Linked DNA regions of Homo sapiens: region 2 is linked to region 1. The links are contacts of gene promoters, found by promoter capture Hi-C in blood cells and fetal thymus (Javierre and others, 2016). All regions are on one chromosome and are shown on one strand. The core of a region is centred on a gene start or on the middle of the fragment in contact, and the rest is flanking DNA. Distances in the headings are between cores, read along the strand shown. Region 1 holds the start of MAP3K5 (mitogen-activated protein kinase kinase kinase 5). Region 2 has its middle 28 kb from the start of IFNGR1.

Region 1 (6,592 bases), core at 3,786-6,285:
GAGAAAGAAATAAAAAGCATCCAAATAAGAAAAGGAGTCAGATAATCTCTCTTCCCTGAAGATAAGAATCTTTTTTTTTTTTTTTTTTTTTTGAGACAGAATCTCACTCTGTTACCCAGGCTGGAGTGCAGTGGCACGATCTCGGCTCTCTGCAACCTCCATCTCAAGTAGCTGGGACTACAGACTACATGCTCAGCTAATTTGTTTTTCAGTATTTTTAGTAGAGATGGGGCTTCACTGTGTTGGCCAGGCTGGTCTCAAACTCCTGGCCTCAAGTGATATACCCGCCTTGGCCTTCCAAAGTCCTGGGATTACAGGCATGAGCCACTGCGCCTCATCCCCTGAAGACAAGATTCTATACCTAGACTCCACCAAATGGCTCCTAGAATTGATAAACAATGTCGGTATAGTTTCAGGATACAAAATCAATGTATAAAAATCAGTAGCATTTTCATATACCAATAACGTTCAAGCTGAGAGACAAGTCAAGAACACAGTTCCATTTATAATAGCCACACACACACACACACACACGCACACAATCTAGGAATACATCCAATCAAGGAAGTGAAAGATCCCTACAAGGAGAATTACAAAACACTGTTGAAGGAAATCATAGATGACACAAACAAACAGAAAAATATTCCACGCTGATGGATTGGAAGAATCAATCTTGTTTAAATGGCCACACTGTCCAAAGCAATCTACAGATTCAATGGTATTCCTAAGAAACTACCAACATCATTTTCCACAGAATTAGAAAAACTATTCTACAATTCATATGGAACCAAAAAGGAGCCTGTAGAACAGCAGGAAAAAATAAAATAAAATAAAATAAAACCCCAAAAGAGCCTGAATAGCTAAAGCCAAAGCCAGAGGCATCATATTACCTAACTTCAAACTGTACTATAAGGCAACAGTAACCCAAACAGCACGGTACTGGTACAAAAACAGACACTCAGACTGATGGAACGGAGTAGAGAACTCAGAAATAAAGCCGTACACCTACCGCCATCTGATCTTCAACAAAGTCGATAAAAATAAGCAATGGGGAAGGACTCCCTGTTCAATAAGTGGTGCTGGCTAGCCTTATGCAGAATAAAACTGGACCCCTACCCATCACCATATACAAAAATTCACTCAAGATGGGTTAAAGATTTAAATGTAAGACCTCAAACCCTAGGAATCATAGAAGAAAACCTAGGAAATACCATTCTAGACATCGGCCTTGGGAAAGAATTTATGACTAAGTCCTGAAAAGCAATTTGCAGCAAAACGAAAAACTGACAGACGGGACCTAATCTAAACAGCTTCTGCACAACCAAAGAAACTATGAACAGAGTGTGGTGTTACGATATATATTGGTTTTCATCTGTGGTTTCTGGCTTGTAACTCCCATAACCCTCGTTATAGTCTTCTGTTATGTTGAGTGTGTTAGGCCTCAGAGGCAGGCCTCTAATTTTTTCCTGCTCTCCTTTTACCTGCTAACAACCCCCCACCTTTCTGACTGTGGGTCTTAAGACCTTCCCAGGAGAGGGTCCCATTGGATACACATGGACATAAAGATGGTAACAACAGACACTGCGGACGGGAGGGAAGGAGGGAGCAAGGGTTGAAAAACCAACTGTTGGGTGCTCTTTCTACTACCTGAGTGACAAGAACAATCGTACCCTAAACTTGAGCATCATGCAATATATCCATGTAACCTGCACATGTACCCCCGAATCTAAAATAAAACTTGAAATTACTTTAAAAAAAGCACTATTTTGCACAGCTCAGTGATTTTTAGGAATTCATGTGTGCCTTCACAGTGGGAGTGACTGTGCTCCTCCCAGAGTATTTTCTTCATGTACTTCTTCAAATACCTCCTACACTTCAGAAACTTCTCCAGATTTTCTTTATACCCTTCAACCAAAACAACATGCTGCAACAGCATGAATGTAGAAGCAGAAATGAGAATCCACTGTCATCTATTAAGCCAGACATTAAAAAGATTTGTGAAAATGCACAACGGTGTCACCATTCTTTTTGTTTTGTTTTGCAAAATACCGTTATTTTTCATTAAAAAAATTCACTTCAGCCTTTCAGCTGCCTAATTCAGATCCACAAAAATCCCACAGCCAAAGGGAACCCTGACTGTAGACTCACCCTCTGGATTCCTGTCCTTTCTTCCAGAATCTTGCCAGCTAGTTCCTCATTATCTCATAACCCTATGCTATGGAACATAAATTACCTAAACCGTGCCTTTTAGGTAGAGGGAGAATCTCTGGACCAGCTAGAAGCAGAATTTCAACATTGTATTGGGGTTTGGGTGCCTAACATAAAAAACATATTTAAAGTTAATAAATCAAAAAAGCCAGCAAAGTAAAACAAAAAATAAAAATTGTGTATGAAAATGGCTCTGAAAGGATCTGGAAGGAAAGCACAAAGTGAGAGGGTATAAAAAGTTACAGCTTTGGAAAATAGCTTGATATATAATTTCAGATTTTGTATTTCTACAGTAAAATGCTACTTGAGCATTTAGGCGTTTTAGTTTTCCACACATGAACCTCATCGATTTCCAGAGTTTGTGGTTCTTGGTGAGGATAGCGGGGAGGATTATCTTACTCCTACAAGGTTTTGGAGGTTTGACAAGTTGTTGAAAATATTAAAAGGCACATAACTATTACTAGCTCAGCAACATTTTGTTTCAGTATAATCACTGATTCACTACCTATTTTACTATTGATATTAATTCCAAAAGCTAGTGTGGGTCACATAGATTCCATTTTACATGAAGAATATAAAGTTTCCTTACTAGAAATTTACTTCTATTATTTTATACACCTTTAGAAAAATCTAATGTCACATTGATTCATTGATACAGTTGTGTAGCGGCTAGGTGTTTTTCCTCATGACTATTTCCTTCCTTCCTTTAATTATTATTTTTTTTTAAGATGGGGGTCTCACTATGTTGTCCAGGCTGATCTTGAACTCTTGGGCTCAAGCAATCCTCCCACCTTGGAGAAAATTAAAGAACTCTTTCCTTTAATTCTTTTTCTTTTTCTTTTTTTAGATGGAGTCTCGCTCTGTCGCCCAGTCTAGAGTGCAGTGTCGCCATCTCGGCTCACTGCAACCTCCACCTCCCGGGTTCAAACGATTCTCCTGTCTCAGCCTCTCGAGTAGCTGGGATTACAGGCGGCTGCCACCACGTCCAGCTAATTTTTGTATTTTTAGTAGAGACGGGGGTTTCACCATGTTGGCCAGGCTGGTCTTGAACTCCTGACCTCAAGTGATCTGCCCGCCTCGGCCTCCCAAAGTGTTGGGATTACAGGCGTGAGCCACTGCGCCCAGACTTTCCTTTAATTCTTTACTATTCAGCTATTTTATCCTTCCTTCTTACCCAGTTTGAAATGTAATTCATGGCTGGGCTGGGTGGTTCACGCCTGTAATCCCAGCACTTTGGGAGGCCGACGCGGGCATATCACCTGAGGTCAGGAGTTAGAGACCAGCCTGGCCAACATGGTGAACCCCACACCCCTCCCCCTCCCGTCTCTACTAAAAATACAAAATTAGCCTGGTGTGGTGGCGCATGCCTGTAATCCCAGCTATTCGAAAGGCTGAGGCAGGGGAATCGCTTGAACCCGGGAGGCAGAGGTCGCAGGGAGTCGAAATCGCGCCATTGCACTCCAGCCCGGGCAAGAAGAGCGAAACTCCGTCTCAAAAAAAAAAAAAAGTAATTTACATTTTCTTCTGCCTTTTTCACAGGACTCACTAGTCTCAGTTCCTGGAGATGGGAAGTACAAAACCTGTTTCTTTACTCAGTTGTAACTTGCACTGGCTTTCCTAACAATTACAGCATTCTGGGGTTCTCTGGGAACTTACACATCTGTTCTTTGCTCCCCAAATAAGCAGGTACTTTTTTTGATTGCTCTTAAACAATCTGGGTATTTCCCTCCCGGCCTCGCGTGATGCAGTTTAAAAAATAGAATAGGTCACGTTATTCCCCTGTTTCATCTTGTTGATAATTTGTGGAGTCGGGTAGAGACTCCATCTTCTATCTTAAGTATCTGGCGCTTGTGGGGGAATTAAGATCCTAAATGAGAATACTAAGTCCTTCGGCAGTTGGCACTAATCAATTACTCATTACTGATAACGGAATGAGCCACTGGAAATTTTAAAAGGAAAAGTACATGGGAGAACCTGATCAATTTAGCCAGCCACTTCTGGAGTGCCACAGTCACTAATGAAGCAACCTCCAGTGCAGGCCCTGGCTCCAGGGCGCTATGTACAACCTCCTGCCTCGCGCAACGTGGGTCTCCCGGAGCCTATCCTGCCAGCGCCGCGCACGGTCCCAGTCCACCAGGCCGCCAAGGCCCGGAGGGGGGCGCCCTAGTCGCGGGGAACACTGGAAATGCTTCAGGGGCGGACTCCGAAGACCGAGTATTGCCTCGAGGGACTTTCTGCGCCACCCCGTAATCGCTTGCGCTCCAGGTCTTCGTAGGTGGGGGCCGGGTGGGTGAAGACTGGGACCCTATGCCACGCGCAGCACTCAGAGGAGGGCTGGGGTCCCAGGGCCGCAGCGCGGTCAGTTCAGTCCGGGCTCGAGCTTCCTAGCAGCGCCCTCCTTGGGGGCTGGCCCTGACCCTCGGTGCCGCTACGAGTGGGTGGCCAGAAGCTGGTGGTGGAGAGGGAGAGCGTCTGCAAGGAACGACGAGGCTGGCGCCGGGACCACGCGGCGGAGGCGATCGAAAGAGAAACGAGGCCAGGCAAGGAGGAGGAAATCCACCCGATGAAGGCGAGCTGCCGCCTAAGAGGGAGGAGGGTCCTTTCGGCTGCCGCTGCTGCTGTTCCGGGACGCCGCCTGGGGAGCCAGCCCGCTCGTAAGGTGCGCGCCAGGTAGCTCCGCACCCAGGGGGCGCCCTTCCTGGCCCCTCCCAGAGCGGCCGGGACGGAAGGAGCTGCGCGGCGCGGCGCGGCGCGGCGCGGCGGGTGGCGAGGGCGGGCTGCACCCCGAGCGCGGCGCCCTTGAGCTGCACCGCGGCGCAGGTTTGCGAGCCGACTTGTCAGCCGGCCAAGAAAAGGAAGCTCCGTCCCTTCCCGCTCACCCGGCTTCCCCACCCCTTGTACTCTAAACTCTGCAGAGGGCGAGCGGCGCGGCCACGGAGGCGCCGAGGAGGAGCGAGCCGCCGCCGGGCAGCGGCGTGCCCTCGGGGGAGAGGGCGCCGGAGAGGAGGCGGCGGCGCGGCGGCGAGGGCGCGGCGCGCGATGGCAGCTGCTTAGCCCGGCGGGCGCGGAGCAGCCCCGAGCTGTGGCTGGCCAGGCGGTGCGGCTGGGCGGGGGACGCCGCCGCCGTTGCTGCCCGGCCCGGAGAGATGAGCACGGAGGCGGACGAGGGCATCACTTTCTCTGTGCCACCCTTCGCCCCCTCGGGCTTCTGCACCATCCCCGAGGGCGGCATCTGCAGGAGGGGAGGAGCGGCGGCGGTGGGCGAGGGCGAGGAGCACCAGCTGCCACCGCCGCCGCCGGGCAGCTTCTGGAACGTGGAGAGCGCCGCTGCCCCTGGCATCGGTTGTCCGGCGGCCACCTCCTCGAGCAGTGCCACCCGAGGCCGGGGCAGCTCTGTTGGCGGGGGCAGCCGACGGACCACGGTGGCATATGTGATCAACGAAGCGAGCCAAGGGCAACTGGTGGTGGCCGAGAGCGAGGCCCTGCAGAGCTTGCGGGAGGCGTGCGAGACAGTGGGCGCCACCCTGGAAACCCTGCATTTTGGGAAACTCGACTTTGGAGAAACCACCGTGCTGGACCGCTTTTACAATGCAGGTGCGTGTGTGACCCCTTTCCCATCCCGCGCGGTCGGGACCCGCGTTTAATCTGGCGGTCTTCGGGGCATTTCATTTTTCTGGGCGGGAAGCATTTACTTCTTGCCCCACTTTGGGGGCAGCGAGCGCCGCTGCGTGACTGCTCCTGTCGCTCGCCGCTCCGGAGAGAGCGTGTGTGCTTGTGCAAGAGTCTGTGTGTACTTGTGCGATAGACCTATGGATCCACCCACCGCCCAGCGCTGGAGCCCTGGGTCCATGCGATCGACTTGAACTGTTCTCCAGCAGTGTGAGATATTTGCCCCAGTCAGTCTTTCTCCTTTCAGTGTCTCGGTTTCGCTTCTGTGAGGTTTGGTCCCTGTTTTCTTTCTGCATATACCTGTGACCGTTTTAGATGAGGTTCTCCTTTTCTCTGTGTAGTTTTGAGAGTACGGGAACGATGACATACCATGCACGCAGAGTGTAACTATATTAATTTGCATGCCATGTGATGATCTTCCCAACTCACCTTACCTTCGATAAGTTTTAGTAGCTTGAATTTCCTCTCACCAACCCAGACTTTGAAGTAATTACAGTGCTTCCAAAGGCAATAACATTACAACTTACACTGAACTTGTGTGTTATCTTTGTAAGGATTTTGGTGAAAGAACCAGGGCCTGTTTTTTATTACCCCATAAACCATGGTGGGCTAGAAAGTTTGTAATTTAACATTGTCTAAAACACCTGTATGCTATCCTAATAATAAGATTAGTTTCGCCATTAAAGTGATTGCTAGCATAATCCATGAAAGAAAT
Region 2 (7,283 bases), core at 3,983-6,482, 450 kb before region 1:
AGGCAGAGCCGAAATACTGAAAAAAATTGCATTGCAGTTGGGTGAGAGGTAATCAGGGTTGAAGCATTCTAAGACCTTAATGTTTAAAGGGAAGGAAAAGTTTAAGTTGAGACTTATTAAATTAAATGTAAACATTAAAGTTTCTAAAATAACTATTAAATACCTAGACATAGAATGTATAATTTCCTTCTTTTTTTTTTTTTTTTTTTTTTTTTTTTGAGACAGAGTCTCACTCTGTCGCCCAGCCTGGAGCGCAGTGGCGTGATCTTGGCTCACTGCAGGCTTTGCCTCCCAGGTTCACACCATTCTCCTGCCTCAGCCTCCCAAGTAGCTGGGACTACAGGTGCCTGCCACAATGCCCGGCTAATTTTTTGTATTTTTAGTACAGACGGGGTTTCACCGTGCTGGCCAGGATGGTCTCGATCTCCTGACTTCGTGATCCACCCGCCTTGGCCTCCCAAAATGCTAGGATTACAGGCGTGAGCCACTGCGCCCGGCCAGAATGTATAATTTCCAAATTAGCAAAGGGAAAAAAATGGAACATAAGTGAGGGAGACTTTGAATCAATCCATTTACATAAGTCAAAAAACACAAAACTAAACAATATGCATTTCGACATACTTATATGATGACATTAGTTCTTTTTAACCAAAGGAATGATTAACACAAAGTTTAAACCGGTATATACCTCTCCCGAGGATAAGGGAGAGCCTCCACCGGCCCAGCTCAGGGGGAGCTGGTTGGATCCTTAAAGGAAGTAAACAGAAACCTCAAGTTAATTTGAGGAGAAGTTAAGAAAGGGATTGTGTACAAAAGTAGGGGCAGTGTGTAGAAAAACAGGTTTAATGCAATACTCCATTGGCCAAAACTAACAGGAAGTTGAAAGGCAAAGGAGGCTGCAGATGGTGTCCATAGACATCCTCTCCCTAAAGCCCAGAGCCAGTGAGGCAGTGAAGAGGGAGCCAGGTGAAGGGCAAACCCAAGATTACACTCAGTGAGGCTCATTTCATTCTCCTTATTAAAACAGTGAACGTACGTTATTTCTACCAGTTTGTATGCATGATATATTTTACTGGGGAAAAAATACAATAAAATTAATAATGTTTGGGCTTTTCTTTTCTCATTGAAAACTTTAAAAATGTTTCAAAAGTAGGAAGGGGGAGCGAGGAAAGTAAAAAAAAAAATTAAAATGACTAGTAATAGCCATTATTTTTCTTTTGTTGTTATCTATCTTTTTTTACTTCTTTGTATCCTCTGCTATGGTCTAAGGGTTTGTGTCCCCCTGAAATTCACATGTTGAATTCCTAATCCCCAGGGTGATGATATTAAGAGATGGGGCTTCTGGGAGGTCATTAGATCATGAGGGTGGAGTGCTCATGGATGGGATTAGCTCCATTATAAAACAGGCCCACAGGAAGAGTGAACCAGGAGGAGAGCCCTCACCAGGCACCCAGTCTGCCTGTGTGTTGGTCTTGGACTTTCCTCCAGAACTGAGAGAAATAAACTTCTAATGTTTATAAGCAACTCAGTTTATTGTGTTTTCTTATAGCTGCCTGAATAGACTAATACACTCTCATCTGCAAAGAGGACAGCAAAATATTTTAAAGGGTCTCAACCTTAAGTTGTCTCAAGCACAGAGCACCTGAGGCAGTGAAGCCAGTAGCAAAGTGAGAGGCAAAGAAGCTTAAATCAAGTTTGGCCTACAGCTGTCTCCTTATGTATTTTAAGTTTGACTTAAAGGCTTCTCTGTACCTAAGGAACTATAACCTCAATGGATTTGTAAACAGACTGTAACCTACTCTTGTGCCAAACACTGAGTTTTGGCCAGTCAGAGAGGGCCAACCTTTTCAACCGTGTTCAAATAAGGCAGGCACCATGCTGTGACCAATCCAGCTGCTTCTGTACCTCACTTCCGTTTTCTGTGCTTCCCTGTTCTCTTTCTGTTCATAAATCTTCTTACATCACGTGGCTGCACTGGTGTCTCTCTGAGCCTACTCTAGCTTGGGAGGCTACTTCATTCACAAATTGTTCTTGGCTCAATTAAATTCCGTTAAATTTACTTTAGCTAAAGTTTTCCTTCTAACACTCATTTATCAGATCTGTCAGCCAAGAAATAAAAGCAATTTCCAAGTTTCTCACTGGGAAGTCAGGGATGACCATTTATGAGGAGGTAGTTTGGTAGATCAAAAATGGCAGACTGGGAATGAATTAAATCTCATTTACGTGAAAATAACATACAAATAAAAATTAAACAGAAAAAAACAATTTAAACATAAATAAGTCTAAAGATCATAGACAAAGTGGTTTTCCTTTTTTTTTTTAGTTTCAGTGTTCTTCATTATAAAAAACATTTTATTTAAAAGCATAGTCAAGCAATAATAATGACTAACAACTCCTGGGTGCTTGCTTTTTGTCAGGCAGGGTTCTGAGTGTCATACATGCATTTAGTCCTTTTGTCATGACTGAAACCTACAAGAGAGGACTATTAGTACCTTTTTATAGATGAGGACACTGGGGCATAAAGAAATCAAATCACTAGGCAGTGGTAGAGCTGAGCTAATGTCCTTTCATGCCTGTGGCCTTGAAGCTGCTTGGACTAAGGGGCAGGATGCCTGCCCACAGCTCCATCCCTTCCATCTTCTCCTCAAGCAATGGGGCACCCTAAAAGAGGGCCTGTGGAACTCAAAGAACTATGTGGAACACAGTTTGAAGTCTACTGACTTAGAGGGAAAGAAGAACATAATAACATTCAGGAAAATATTGGAATTGAGTATTTCATTTGAAACAGGGCTTCCCAGAAGCCAAGAAAAACTGGGAACTAGCATGGCTTAGATAAGGATTTCCTAACCTATGACTCATTGAAGGCCCTGAAGTCAAAGGTAAGCTCCTGTTCATGTGGTTACCTGAGTGTCCTAGACACCCTTGCCCATGGAACTAAGTTTCCCTTTAATGTCCAAGTCAGGAATAATCTGAGTCTTCAGCAGGGTTGGGTGACCAAAGTCCAGTCTTTATCCAGCTTCTGACAAAATGGAATCTAGAAATTTCAAGGCAAGCCCATATGTGCCAAAGATCATCCTGATTGTAGCTTGCCATCCCAGTCAGACTTCTGGCTCTACAATGTAGTTCCTCCCAATTTCTTACCATTTTATATGAGTAATTCTACACATATAGCATAATTACAATATAAAATATTGGTTAAGGCCACAAACTTAGAGATCTAACAGACCTGGGTTTCAATCTTGTGTCAAGCACTTATTAGGTGTGAGCAAGTTGTTTAACATAGCTTCGGTTTCTTCATATGTAAAGTAAGGATTATAATATACACCTAAAAGACTATAGTGAGAATTAAATTCAGTAAAGCATGTGCCTGGGTCATCCGATGTACTCTGTGAATGGTAGCTCTTGCAGAATTATTAATTTTTGCAACAGAGTCTTCTAAAAAGATGCAGAAACCTTAATTCCATAGGACCATTTCTCATATCAACATTCAAGAATGTCAAAGACATTCAAATAAGGCAGATTAAGTTACATTAGTAAAGGCAACTTTACAAAGAGTTACACTAAATAATTCTGGTGATCTAATTTGATATTGTGATTTAATTTGAAACAAGCTAGAACCTGAAATCGTACTAGGGGTGAATGGTTAATATTTTACTTAAACTGTCATCAATATCAGCTACCTTAATTGCACTTTCCTCATGAATTGAGTCAACTCGAAACTGAGCTTTTGGGTGAATTCATAGAATACAAGTATTATTTGTTGTAAACTGAGACTAGATGCACAGGTTCCAGATGTGTACATGGCAAACTTTACTTCTTATTTGGAAATTATGAAGTATGTTTTGCTTGCTAAATAAGTGGGAATTTGCTCCAATCTTGTAAGGAGGGGGAAAACAAGGGTAGTGAAATTCATCTCCCAGAGAGCACTTCTCCTTTTGCTTCCTAGAATATCACCAAGAAGGGCATGTAGATCTTCCTTAAAACAGGATGAGAGAGTTTTTGCCTCACAATCAAAACTTCTGCATTCAGTTTTACAAAGCTCACTCACAAACAATTAACGGTGTTTGGGTCAAAATTGAGAAGTTAAAGTATTTTTGAAATAACAAATCCCAAACAACAAGCAAATGTATTAAAGGATTTGTTCAAATCAACCTTTTAGTAATCTGTTCTTCTCTTTAAGTAGCACTTAACTGCTGTAGCACTGAGAAATAATGCTGTCACAGTGGTGTGCAGCCTGCTCTAGCTGCTCATCCAAAGTCTTATTTATTTAGCGGTCATTTACTTCACAGTTATTATGCACTAAATTATACTAGCTTAAGTATAGCATACTATATATTTATATTTATATTTTTCTAACATAGTTTTTCCTCACAATGAAACAGACTTGTCCTTCATACTAAACTTGGTGAGGCAGTCCAGGTCAGTGTTCTAGGACAGGTGCCCCCAGTCCCCAGGCCGTGGACCAGGGCCAGTCCATGGCTTGTTAGAAACCAGGCTGCATAGCAGGAGATGAGCGGCAGCGAACATTACCGCCTGAGTTCCACCTCCTGTTTAAAAATTAAACAGAAAAAAACAATTTAAACATAAATAAGTCTAAAGATCATAGACAAAGTGGTTTTCCTTTTTTTTAGTTTTTTATGTTTTTTATGATCAGCAGGTGGCATTCAATTCTCCTAGGTGTACGAACCCTATTGCGAACTGCACATATGAGGGATCTAGGTTGCATGCTCCTTATGAAAATCTGAAGCCTGATGATCTGAGGTGGAACAGTTTCATCCCGAAGCCATCCCCTGCCCTCATCTGTGGAAAAACTGTCTTCCACAAAACTGGTCCCAGGTGCCAAAAATGTAGGGAACTACTGTTCTAGGACATACCTTAAGCATCTTAAGGAAGGGAATATAAAGATGCATAAAAGATTCTAGTTCCTCACCAGATGGTGAACTAATGCTGAATACCATCATTCCTCCCCAAACTGAGCCCAGAAGTGTCATGGTGAAAAGAAAGTGGATGATGGATCAGGACATAAAGACTCTGAGAAACCCTAGTCAAGATAAAAAAGCCTGTATCCCAGGGTTGGAGCAGAAGAGACCACAGGTGCAGCAGGCGGGGATGGGCTGCGGAGAGCTTTCTGGTGGTGGCCATTTCTCCACCACGTGTGCCCTGCTGGATCATCACCAGCCAGGATCTATGGCACTTGTCAGAGGCTGTGGCATCACATCAGGACAACCCTGAAACCAGGTCACTGAGAAGAGTAACAGCAGGCAAGGCAGACCAACTGCTTCCTGATCATTCTTCCCCCAGTCCCACTCAGGCCACCCCTTGGGACCAGGAGATGACAGCCCAGGAGGCAGCTTTGGGGAAGACCTGTGCAAAGTGAGATTCAGAAAGGTCCCCTGAGCAACAGGATAAGGAGTGTTGAGGGCATAATAAACGAACCTCACCTCACATCAGAACTCTCCAAGCTGAGAAAGTGCACACACGCTCACTCCTTAAGCATACTTGGAAAAGCAAAAGCTAGGATGTAAGCCTCTATCCCTTCCCTCAGGCACACACAACAGCCAACAGCAATGTGTTAGCTTCCTGGGCAAATAACAGGGTGTTTGATGAGCCATGCACACTTCTCCTGAACTTACCAGTTGTTGTTTTATATAGCTTGATTGATGCTAGATTGATTGGTGCATGAATGGGTAGGGAAAAATAAAACCCCAATATATAGTTGAAACAGACCCCTATTACAAAACACAGATTAACAAGAGAAAAACAAACAGACATTTATTAACATGTATATTTCATATATACGTGGAAGATACCCAGAGAATGAGTAACTCTCAAAGAGGTGTTTGGAATTTCTGCTTCTACGATGAAGAAGTGAAGGAAACATCATCCCCAAATATAACAAATTGGTATATTTTGAGCTAAAAAACACTGGAAAAATTACAGTTTCAGAAAAAGTCTAGTTGCCCTGTCTTTTCCTGCATGTAGCAAGCCAAAAAAGATTCTTTTGGGAGGGCTGCCTTCTCCTTACCTGGGTAAAAGAATATTCGTTATCACTGGAGACTGAGATTTGGTGCTGCAACAGGCCTAGGTAAATAAACTTCTGGAAGTAACCCTTATCTTCCACTAGTTTTACATACTCCAAATACCTCCTAGTGACTCCCCTAGAATGTACTATCCCTAGCCAGATCCCCTTTCCCCTGTCATTTCTTCACAAATTTATTGTTGTTTATCTAAAAAGTATAAAAGCATCTTACTTGGGCCGCTTCTTGAGGCTTCCCTCTCTTGTGAACATCCCCATGTGAATGTAAAATTAACAAAACTTGCATGCATTTCTCTTTTTATTCTTCCTGTCTAAATCCTTTTAGGGGCAGGGAATGTATGTCAAGACTTTTGTATTGAGTGATACATTTTGTAGAATGGAACAATCCAACCGAGGTAGGCCCACCAAGGGCTCAGACACTTCAGGAGTGAAGGTTTGAAAACAATCAAGGGCCGGGCATGGTGGCTCATGCCTGTAAACCTAGCACTTTAGGAGGCCAAGACAGGTGGATCACTTGAGGTCAGGAGTTCGAGACCAGCTTGGCCAACGTGGCAAAACCTCGTCTCTACTAAAAATACAAAAATTAGCAGGCGTGGTGGTGCACACCTGCAATCCCAGCTACTGGGGAGGCTGAGACAAGAGAATCGCTTGAACCTGGGAGGCAGAGGTTGCCGTGAGCCGCGATCATGCCAATGCCCTCCAGCCTGGGCAACAGAGCAAGACTTTGTCTCAAAAAAAAAAAAAAAAGAGAAAGAGAAAAAAACTAGAAAAACAATCAAGTGAAAAAAGCATTTAATCATATAAAGAATCCCAAGTAGCTAAGGCGCTGGCTAAAGGTAAAGGGAACATGAATGGGTAGGAGGTGAAGGAAAGCATAAATATCAACTAGCTTTGAGATAATTTGCAACAAGAAGTACCAGACTGCCCCACAGGTATTGTTGTATGGCTGGGGGGGAGATTACTTGTCATCTTTGCGCATCAGTTACCTGGCCTATAGGATGCAAGCTGAGAATAATCATGTCTACTGTGCGAGGTTATTTTCAGGATTATAATCAAGATATAAATATTTGGCACTTAGTAGGGGTTCAGGACATGATGATCATCCTGTAGATAAGAAGTAGGATATAGTGTAGAGGGCTAAGAGCAGAGACTTTGGGGTTAGAGTAGAGATTGGAATCTCATAAGTTTACAGACCTGGTGCACGTTGTTTAAGTTCTCAAAGTCTTAAATTTTCACTTCTTCAAAA

What was found. Contacts are between HindIII fragments. The CHiCAGO score rates a contact against its expected background, and 5 or more counts as called.
Region 2: a contact is called between a fragment that was not itself captured here and the fragment with the promoter of MAP3K5 in region 1, in 1 of 17 cell types (neutrophils). The highest score is 6.2, in neutrophils.

What each region holds. Positions count from the first base shown.
Region 1 is chr6:136,790,920-136,797,511 of GRCh38, reverse strand. It overlaps MAP3K5 (mitogen-activated protein kinase kinase kinase 5), which reads left to right and starts at 5,035. Exons shown (of 30, transcript NM_005923.4): 1 at 5,035-5,802. The coding sequence starts at 5,355. RefSeq lists enhancers at 3,955-4,034, 4,405-4,464, 4,575-4,804, 5,595-5,664, 5,770-6,285 and a silencer at 4,825-5,464. The HindIII fragment of the contact is 11,326 bases long and covers 1-6,592 here.
Region 2 is chr6:137,243,554-137,250,836 of GRCh38, reverse strand. No RefSeq gene overlaps it. Among named protein-coding and RNA genes, the nearest start is that of IFNGR1, 28 kb to the right of the region's middle. The HindIII fragment of the contact is 7,093 bases long and covers 1,686-7,283 here.